2 separate regions of the Homo sapiens genome follow, and region 1 is linked to region 2. Evidence: promoter capture Hi-C in 16 types of primary human blood cells and fetal thymus (Javierre and others, 2016). All regions are on one chromosome and are shown on one strand. The core of a region is centred on a gene start or on the middle of the fragment in contact, and the rest is flanking DNA. Distances in the headings are between cores, read along the strand shown.

Region 1 (5,334 bases), core at 1,484-3,983, 2.2 Mb after region 2:
CTCCTGACCTCAAGTGATCCACCCTCCTCGGCCTCCCAAAGTGCTGGGATTATAAGTGTGAGCCACCGCGCCTAGCCAAGATTCTCCAGTTTTAATGTGCATATAAATCACTTGGTACATACTATCAAAATACAGATTCCAGAAGGTCTAGAGTGGAGTTCCCACGAGTCTGCATTTTTAATGTTTGCCAACATTCAGAATGTATACCTAAGTAGCAAGGGTCTTCATTGTCCAATTAAGTAGACACTAGCTACAAGTGGATTTTCAAATTCAAGTTTACATACTGCTGGAACTCAACAGCTGCAGGTCGCTAGTGGCAAAACCACTGGACAGCAAATTACAGATTTGTGTCATTGCAGAAAATTTTATTGGAAAGAGCTGACCTAGATAGATCCATTAACAAAGCAGAAAACTGGAAGCAAGCACTCTCCTGAAGCACAACTTAAGCTATCTTATCCATGTACAAACATCTTGCAGAAAACTCTCCAAGCAATCAGCCACAAACTACATCAATTAAAATCATCTTGTACATACCCTGCGGGCCAGCAGCAGGCCAGTACAATATGCTGCAGCATAATTTGTCAGGCCAACCTTCACACCATATTTTGGCAGTTCGTGTGCATACGCTGCGCAGACTATCATATCCCCCTCTATACGGGCATAAGCAATCTATAGTAAGAGAGAAACTAGGTTAGTAATCTGTTGCTTTCACTGTCTTACTACATCTTAATTATTTTTCAAGGGAATAAAAAAACATTGATGGACACAGATGAACATCACTTAAAATGCTTAAGACTCTTAGCTGGGTTACCAGTAAATTAGAGGTGCTTAAAAAGTCAAAGAGGAATACCCAAATATTTCAATCATCTTTTGAACTAAACATAACTAAAGTCAGCAAAGTCTCAGGAACCTAACGTTTAGTTATCTGAACTTGGGTACGGAGGAAGACAATGCCTTCACAATCAACAAACTATTTGCCCAGGAAACAGGTGTGCCTACCTGCTGCAAAATATCAATAAATCTTAACTCTCAGAATTTCTCCTAGTTGTAAAAGCCCAGGATTCTAGCTTTCAGAGTCCAGTGAGAATGCTCTTAGTACAAGAGCAAAACTGACACTTCCTAAAGGTCTTTCATGCGGGAGCCACCTTTGTACATTTTATTAAAACCTATTTCAAAGAATAAGCAGAACAATCTTAAAGCCCTGTTTAATTCACAACTACCTTTTCAGTGGTTAAGTGGCATATAAGGCCATATAGGAAAAATCAGGACAAACCCTATTCTTCTACTGGAATTGGGATGGGCAAGAACTTCTTACTTACTTCTAATCTCCCCACCCCACACACATAAACTAGGTTTCAGTGTCTTGCTCTGTCACCTAGGTTGGAGGGCTGGGTGTGATCTCACTTCACTGCAGCCTCAACCTCGGGGCTCAAACAATCCTCCCACTGAGTAGCTGGGACTACAGGTGCGCCCCGCCATGCCCAGCTAATTTTCTTACATTTTTTGTGAAGACAAACTCTCACTATATTGCCCAGGCTGGTCTCAAACTCCTGGGCTCAAGCAATCTTCCCGAAGTGCTGGGATTACAGGCATGAGCGCAACCAAGAGCATTTTTTAAAGTACCAAGTTCCCAGGTTCCAATTCTAGACCTACTAAAAGGAAAAATTATTCACTGGATGCTTTTGGAGGTGCTAGACAGCCCTTCTAACACACACACCATGTGCTTTGCTTCCCAAGCACAATTTCTCTAGCAATAAAAAAAGGGGACTGTCTAGAATACAACTTACCTGACAAATGATATCTCTGTTTGTCACACGAACTATCATCCTGTATTTGGGTGTGTTGTATTTATTTTTATCTTGTATCACCAAGCGTTTCCGAGCATAATAATCAGTTTTACCCTCTGAAAGAAAAAAATAATTGTAGAAAGGATACTCCACTGCATCTGCAAAGCAGATTAATATTGTAAACACAAAAAGGTGACAGTACCTCGTCGTCTTCTAAATTTCACTTGGTATCTCTTAAAGTAGGCCTTATTCTTAACAACTTTAACAAACCCCTTAAAGAAAAAAGAATGTTATTAAAACTTTGATGTCTTAGCCTATGATACTTTTGACATAAATTAACCATGTAACAAAGTAACACTTGAACTTCAAGAGTAAACAGACAACTGTCACTTGTAGAATCCCAGGTTTCACAAGCAACTAGGGTCAAGAATCTTTTTCCTCTACCTTCCATGTCACAGACTAGTAGTTTCATAAAACAATAAAAATGAATCCTTAGAGAAATATGGAATAAAAGAAACATACAAAATGCAGGCCCCAATTTATTACATTTAACAGGTATAAAATTATTGTTATATTGCTTTCAAAAGGTTTTAAACGCTTTCAATTTCCATATTTGTTTCTTCAAGGACCAGCACCGGTAATTGTGCCAAACTTTTGCGAAGCACTGCTCCAGACAGCAATCAGTGATGCCAAACGTCGGTTTGTTCGGAACACGCTATGTCCCACTTCGAAAACCTAGCCTCAAATAACAACTACGTACCTCTCTCGCTTCCCATGTTATGTTTTTCAAAAGCCTAAATTACCTGCCACAAAGCTTAACTGGGCAAGAGCACATTCAGCAGTAATTCCCCCACTAAAACAGCACTGTTCCCCATCAGCTAAAGCAACATTTCATCCCACCCTTGGGGCCCTACCCCAATAATTAAAAACTCATCCGGCGACGGACTCTAGAGGAAGAGGCAGGAGGCACGTATTCCATGTTAAAGGAGCTTCCGGGGCCCAGGGACCCCTCGGCCTCCAAGCTCCACTGACAATTTTGGCTTAAAAGCCACTTGCTCAGCCCACGGGCACAAGCTTCCTAAATCTAAGACTTGCCGGCTCCGACATTCTCCTGGAAAACCCACGAAGTACTCGGTACTCGGAGGTCGAGTGGGACCCGAGGACCTGCAGCCCCCCTCCATTCTGGCGTTCCCCAGCTAGGCTGAGGTCGACTGCTTGCGACCTCTCACGCCCGGCCGCTTGCCAGCGCCCCCTCACACTAGACGGCAGTATCCGCACTCAGGCTGTCTACTAAACTCACCCTTCTCCCCAATCCGCCGTCCAAGCTCACGCAACCCTTCTTCGCCAACCCCTCCCCCCAAGTTCGCGCACCGGGCGGCAGCCATTTAAGGCCACGCTGGGAACTGCACCTCGACCAAGTCAGAGCTAGCAATCTAACGCCATCCGGCCCCTGCGACGCGCGAGACGGGCCCTAGGCTGGCATACGGGCAAGAAAAGGGAACCTCCATGCATCTAAAGCCCCGAGACCGAGGCATCCACTCACCATCCTGCGGAACAGAGACCGGCGTCCGCTGCTCGACAGAGACCTGCAGGCCCAGCGGCGCTAGGGGGTGGGAAAAGGGCCACAGCCCTTGCGCAGGCGCAGTATGTAGCGCGGACGGTCACGCCAGTGACGTGTGAAAGAGAGAGGGCGTCGGCCACAAGGCGTTTTACGTTCCGCCCCCTGCTGGAAGGAGGGTGAATGCCTGCCCAAGCTCTCCAGGTTCCAATGCTCGGGGTATCTCACAGGATCCGTGCGGTGAGGAGGAGCAGGGAGGATTACTGGAGCCTTTCGCTTTCTTTGCTACAGCGTTTTGTTTTGTTTTGTTTTGTTTTGTTTTGTTTTGTTTTGTTTTGTTTTGTTCATAACGCATTTTGCTTTTCTAAGCAGGAAAAAAAAAAAAAATTAAATAGGACAAGTTTGCTTGGGAGCCCTCTTGCCTTCTCTGGGCTACTCATTCTGGTCCAAGAGCATATGGACCCACCCTCCCATCTCACCCCCAGGAAGCCTTCCCTGAGAGCCCCAAGCCTGGGATAGGGGCCACTCCTCTGCCTTCCTACAGCAGCTTTCTACTGGCTTCAGCCCACCACAGACTGTCAACTTTTCGAGGTGGGCCCTGATGTCCACCTCTGACTCTCCAGCACCTAGCAGGGTATCAGCTGCTCACCGTTAGAGCTGGGAGAAGGGACGGCCAACCAGGATGACAGGGTTAAGTGACTCCAAAACACTGCCACTAGAATAAATCAGGATTAGGATGCCAATTACTTCTGATTCCAACTTGTAATTCCTTATATAATAGGAAAAATAAACAGAGTTCGCTATGGCCGATGTCAACAGAGCTCTAGAGGAGAAAACTTAAAACACTTTTCACAGGAAGTGTGATTCTACTTTTGTGGAGCCACCTTTGAAAGGGTAAAGAAAGAGGTATTCAATTCGTATTTATAGAAAATATTTAAAAACCTTCATTTTGGTGGATTATCAAGTTATTAGCCTACCAAAGGTGCTCCATGTCTTGGTCAGGCCCTGCTTACACTGGAGGCAAAAGCATCAGGAAGGAAAGTCTGCCTGGAAACAGGCCGACTCCTAACTTCTGCATGTTTTAGGGCAAGGGTTCATAGGAAGACCCACATACTATTCATCTGAATATTTAGAAGTTGTGGGCCGGGCACGGTAGCTCAGGCCAGGTGCGGTGGGTCACGCCTGTAATCCCAGCGCTTTGGGAGGCCGAGGCAGGCGGATCGCGAGGTCAAGAGATCGAGACCATCCTGGACAACATGGTGAAACCCCATCTCTGCTAAAAATACAAAAACCAGCCGGGCATGGTGGCACGCACCTGTAGTCCCAGCTACTCGGGAGACTGAGACAGGAGAATCGCTTGAACCCAGGAGGCAGAGGTTGCAGTGAGCCGAGATCACACCACTGCACTCCAGCCTGGCGACAGTGAGACTCCGTCTCAAAAAAAAAAAAAAAGAAAGAAGTCATGAAGCAGGCTGGATGTGCTGGCTCAGGCCTGTAATCCCAGCATTTTGGGAGGCCAAGGCAGGAGGATCACTTAAACCCAGGAGTTCGGGACCAGCCTGGGAGACTTGGTGAGCCCCTGTCTCTATAAAAAATAAAATCCAAAAAAAGAAGTTATGAAACAAACAACATGTTAAATTAAATATACTTTATCATCCTTATCCCTCTCCTTCTTACCTTATAAATCCATAACAAGAAAATTAAAAATATGTATACCTATTCCCCTTGGTCACAGTCAGGGGTCTGTGGCTAGCATGGCTGGTTCAGCCAGTGCAGTTGGTGACACCAGGAGCTAGGGGGTAATTGTCCAGCATCCTCAGCCAACAGCATCTTATTCAAGTGGTAAAAGTTAAAAAACCACCAATAGTGGGATGAATTAACATTATAGGTTCACACCTGTAATCCCAACATTTTGGGAGGCTGAGCCAGGAGGATCACTTCAGCCCAGGAGTTCGAGACCAGCCTGGGCACATAAGAAGACCTCTATCT
Region 2 (5,571 bases), core at 566-3,065:
GTAGACTTAGGCAAATTATTTAACTTTTATGGAATCTACTTCTTTGTCTGTAAAAAGGGAACTAATATCCACTTTAAGGTCTTACTGCGAGAATGTATAGTTAAGAAGATTTGATGGAGCCGGGCGCAGTGGCTCATGCCTGTAATCCCAGCACTTTGGGAGGTAGAGGCGGGCAGATCACCTGAGGTTAGGAGTTCGAGACCAGCCTGGCCAACATGGTGAAACTCTGTCTCTACTAAAAAAAAAAAAAAAAAAAATAGCCAGGCATGGTGGTGCATGCCTGTAGTCCCAGCTACTTGGGAGGCTGAGGCAGGAGAATCGCTTGAACCTGGGAGGTGGGGGTTGCAGTGAGCCAAGATTGTGCCACTGCACTCCAGCCAAGCGACAGAGTGAGACTCTGTCTCAAAAAAAAAAAAAAAGAAAAGAAAAGAAAAGAAAGAAGATTTGATGGAAGACAATTTGGAAAGTGTTGTAAGGTCCACGGACTCTACTCACAAAGTCTCCCAAACTTGCTTGCTGATAGGAATGGACACGCTGGTTACATAAGCTAATCCCAGGTGCCCGATCCCCGGAAATTCTGATTCAGTGTTTCCTAATGGACCCTGGGAGTCTGCACCTTTAATAACACATTCTAGGCTCCAGGTAAGTGTGGTGATCAGGCAAGTTTGAATTTAGCAAAGGAATACAGGATGCAGTACTCCTGTCCAGCAGGACTCAGATTTCTGGTTTCTGATTCTAGATCTGACGCTATTCCACTTGGGCAAGCAGTTGCACCTTTCTGAACCTTTTTACTCATCTGTATACCTGTTCAATATAACCTACAGGTAGGTCTATGGTGGACCGAAGGCAAATTATATTTGGGGTGAAGGGGCTCCTGATCTTAGTATTTTATGTTGTCGTAATGTGGATTAATTAGACATAATTAATTTATTAACAATTAATTAATTAGACATAAGCAAAATTGAGATTGAAGGGGGTGTTGGCAGATCATCATTTTGGCTGAGGACATGAGAAACACACTGGAAATGCTTTGTGATAAAATTAACTGAATATTAATTGTAGGACTGTGCCTTGTCTATCCTGCTACCTAGAGCCACTGAGCTTTGCAATCCTCTTAGGAGTGTGGCTTACCTTTAGGTGGTCACCCTCAACTACTCTGGTCACACTGAGAGCTGTGAAAACCTCGAGAAAAGTTAAAAACATACATGTTGGGAGACAGGGGGTTTGGATGAGGGCCCTAAATTCGATGTTTAAGCCTAGGGTCCTTACTGGCGAACACTTTCAGTAATGTCTGTGTGCAACAGAAACATTTCTCTTGGCATTAAAAAAAAAAAAAGAAAGAAAGAAAGGATGTATTCCCTTAGCTTCAGGTGGCATTCACGAAGTTGACAGAGCCAGAACACCTCCTAACTGGGGAGTTTCGGGACCTTTAGGGCGCAGAGACTGCCTGACCTCGTCGTGGGCGTAAATCAAGCTTCCCCAGCGCTTAACTTTACAATTTTCAGCTTACGCTTGGCTGCAGCTGCGCACAATCCGCGCAGAAGCAGGGGTTCCGCTGACAAACGTGAACGTACAGAACGTAGAAACCTTTTAACGCTAATATGCAGTTTCCCTGTATGGCTGTTGTGCATTATTAATCTAGGTATTGCGTATTTAGTTTAGGAAACACGAATACTACATGATAAATGAGGTAAAATGGATTGTGACTGGGACCTCAGCTTCTCCGTCGCCTCCACTCCTCCCAGCTCAGGAAAGACCAGCCCACCAAGACGTGCGTCCTCCGCGTTTGAGTCGCTTCGGCACCCGTAGTTGTGAACTTTGACAGCGGCTGGTCCCCGGAAGTTGGACGCATGCGCCGTTTCTCTGCATGGTGTGCGTTCTCGTTCTAGCTGCGGCCGCAGGAGCTGTGGCGGTTTTCCTAATCCTGCGAATATGGGTAGTGCTTCGTTCCATGGACGTTACGCCCCGGGAGTCTCTCAGTATCTTGGTAGTGGCTGGGTCCGGTAAGTATCGAGGAGGCGACTGTCGGACTTGGGTTGGTCACTACAAACCCCAGAGTGCACCGCGACGCTCTTCCCTGGTACCCTTAGCACTTCTTGGAGTGTTGCATGCAGAGATTTGTAGTTTCTCTGCCTTGCCGGAACCGGGCAGTCCAGCCAGGGTAGGGGCTGGTTTGCTGACGCGGCCCAGAGGTTTTTTTTATGACAAGTAATTTACACTTGTCTATAATTAAGACTCTCTGTAGCGTATATTTTTCAAACAATTAGTGAACAGAGAACGTAGAAGCCTTTTGATGCAAACATGCAGTTTCCCCGTATGGCTGTTGTGCATTATTAATCTAGGTATTGCGTATTTAGTTTAGGAAACACGAATGCTACATGACAAATGAGGCAAAATGAATTGTCACATTTATAAATATACAAAGTCCAAGAGGATAAAAACAATGATCTACGGGCTGTAGAACAATACACACGCGGTGGCAGAGTGTGAGCAACACACTGACCTGTCAGGTAATACAATCTAAATCCACCAACTCTGTAGGTGCTTACAATTTTAAATACACATATTTGACAGGGACAGACAGACACACACAGACACAATGTAAACATTTGGGTATGGCAGGAGATTGCATCCAGATAGAACATGTATAGTATGAGTAAATGTACTAAGTTTATGTTCAAGTATAACGCATTACTTTATTCACTTAATCTGTTTTGAGCTGTTAGAAAGACCAAACACTAAACTAACCTCTGGAAATAACAAAACTGACTAACATTACTTGCCACGGAGTGCTGACTCCGTGCTAAGTCCTGTGAGAGATGCAAAGATACAGCAGTAAATGAAATAGAGAATACAAAAAAACTAACAGAAAATAAATCAAAATGAGTATTTGCCACAATGAGATAAATGCTATAATCTTGTAATAATTGTGTAAGAAGTACAAATTGCTATGGCAGTCTTCAGGAAGGGCACTACTTTATCAGGTCTTAAAAAACAGACAGCTTCCTGGAAGAAATGATGCTAAACTGAAACTTGAAAGATGACCCAGAATTAGTCAGATGAGGGACAGCCAGGGTTTCGAGGGCTGGGAGGATGTGAAAAGAAGGTGATAACACTTGGAATGACCAGAGTTGAGAGAACACTATCGTGTAGAGTTCAATGTAGGGAGGTAAACTGAGTCCAGATTGTAAAGAGTATTTAAAATCTTGCTTTTTTTCTTTTTTATACAGAGTCTCACGCTGTTGCCCAGGCTGGAGGGCAGTGGCGCAGTCTCAGCTCACTGCAACTCCACCTCCCAAATTCAAGCCATTCTCCTGCCTCAGCCTCCCGAGTAGCTGGGATTACAGGCGCACCACCACACTCAGCTAATTTTTGTATTTTTAGTACAGACAGTGTTTCACCATGTTGACCAAGGCTGGTCTTGAACTTCCGACCTCAAGTGATCCTCCTGCCTCAGCATCCCAAAGTGCTGGGGTTGCAGACGTGAGCCACCCCTGGCCTAAAATCCTGCTTTATAAAGCAATTGCTGCTACTCCACTGTTGATATCATGTAGGGGTTAAGACCACAGGCCTCTAGGTTGTCATAACACCACACATGAATCACATTTCTGCCACTTACTACCTTGGGGATCTCAGGCAATTAGTTAACCTCGCTGAACCTTCTGTTTCTACATGGGTTGAGAGAGGACAGGAGAGATTAAATAGGATCATATTTAAAGTGTTTAGGCCGGGCGTGATGGTTCACACCTGTAATCTCAGCAATTTGGGAGGCCGATACAGGCGGATTGCTTGAGCTTAGGAGTTGGAGACCAGCCTGGGCAACATAGTGAAACCCTGTCTCTACATTAAAATAAATAAATAAATTAGGTGGATGTGGTGGCATGCACCTATAGTCCCAGCTATTTGGGAGGCTGAGGTAGGAGGATCACTTGAGTCTGGGAGGTGGAGGTTGCAGTGAGCTGAGATTGTGCCACTGCACTCCAGCCTGGTTGACAGAGTGAGACCCTGTCTCAAAATGAAATAAAATAAAATGATATAATCAAAAGCTTAAATTAAAAAATAAAGTGTTCAGTAAAGTGCTTGACATATAGTGTCAACCTAAAATAATCAAAGGGCTCAATATCCAGTTAGAAGAGTTTATTCAAGCACAAAGCGTGAGATTGGGTGTCTGGGGAGCAAACCTATACCAAAGAATGTAATCAGTGCTCCCCATGTGGGGAAGAATGAAGGTAGTTTGTATACGCAAGAACAGAGATGCTGAACAAAATTACAATATTTTCCATACAAAGGCCAACATACAGATACAAGATTTGGTTGGCTACTGTAAGGGCCAAGGGGAAACTTCCCTTTTGCCCTCTGAAGTTTCACTGAAAATCACTGATGAGGCAGAAATAATAGGAGAAAAGGCATACAAATTTATGAAGCATATATGAAAGTGTTCTGAATGAAGACCCAGAGATACAAGGGAAATGGTCTGTTTTTATGCTTAGGTTCAGCAAAGTATGGACAGCCATGTAGAATTATGACTGGACAAAAGGGTATAATTTAATGCTAATAGACAGTAGGGAAGCCCAGCAAGGCCTGTCTAGATTTTTCTTGGTCTCTCTGAGCATGCATTCCTTTCCTTCTGGATGTGGGGTAGGGCCCTCTCTGGAATGGGGGTCTTATGACCTACCGTCAAACAAGGTAGATCAGATAATTTTTTTAATTTAATTAATTAATTTTAAAAATAGAGATGGTGTCTTGCTATGTGTGCCAGACTGGTCTTGAACTCCTGGCCTCAAGCAATTCTCCTGCCTTCCAAAGCGCTGGGATTAAAGGTGTGAGCCACCTCGCCCAGCTCCCCAGCTCGGATAATTTCTTTATGGCCAGTTTTTACACAGAAAGGTGGAGTAAAATTAGAGTAGTATTTTTAGGTTTTATGACCAGCTTTTGGGAGAAGGAGTTCTTGGTTTCTGTGACCCGCCCTGGGGAAGAGAGATTCTAGTTTCTATGGCAAGCCTCAGGGGAGTATGGGACTGAGAGACAGAGGACAGGAGAAGGCCAGAGAAAAATTTTTGCTTCTAAGGCCTTCATTTTGGGATATTATTTTCTAAGTCCCAACACTACTATTGATTACACACTAAGGGATTTGTTTAACATTCTGGTATAAGGAGGTAACAATCACAAAGGCCTCTATCTCCAATGTCATTTAGTCTAGGTTTGAATAAAGACTAGGGAATCTGGTTAATGTATAACATCTCAACACAAAGGTCAGGAAGCAACAGACATACACCAAAGAGAAAAAGCCATGTTACATGAGTCAGTTTCCAGGGCTTAGCTTTTCCCCTTGGCATAATAAATTTGGAAGGTCTTGACATTTTCTTTTCTTTTTACATAAGCATTTAATAAATGGTTACTGTTATTAGTCTTGGTGGCAAAAGGAGCTTTTGAAGTTTTGTTTTGGTTTTTGTTTTTAAGACAGACTCTTGTTATGTACCCAGGCTTGCCTCTAAATCCTGGGATCAAGCGATTCTGAGACAGCCTCCCGAGTAGCTGGTACCACAGGCACGTGCCACCGCACATGACTTA

The links. Contacts are between HindIII fragments. The CHiCAGO score rates a contact against its expected background, and 5 or more counts as called.
Region 1: a contact is called between a fragment that was not itself captured here and the fragment with the promoter of ALG14 in region 2, in 2 of 17 cell types (total B cells and total CD8 T cells). The highest score is 5.5, in total B cells.

Annotation. Positions count from the first base shown.
Region 1 is chr1:92,830,114-92,835,447 of GRCh38, reverse strand. RPL5 (ribosomal protein L5) reads right to left here and starts at 3,408. Exons shown (of 8, transcript NM_000969.5): 1 at 3,331-3,408; 2 at 1,990-2,059; 3 at 1,788-1,903; 4 at 535-669. The coding sequence starts at 3,333. It also overlaps a transcript of DIPK1A not described here. RefSeq lists enhancers at 2,330-2,967, 3,120-3,439, 2,968-3,606, 3,610-3,659. The HindIII fragment of the contact is 260 bases long and covers 2,604-2,863 here.
Region 2 is chr1:95,069,195-95,074,765 of GRCh38, reverse strand. It overlaps ALG14 (ALG14 UDP-N-acetylglucosaminyltransferase subunit), which reads left to right and starts at 1,815. Exons shown (of 4, transcript NM_144988.4): 1 at 1,815-2,003. The coding sequence starts at 1,868. RefSeq lists enhancers at 1,694-2,053, 2,294-2,373. The HindIII fragment of the contact is 2,572 bases long and covers 1,477-4,048 here.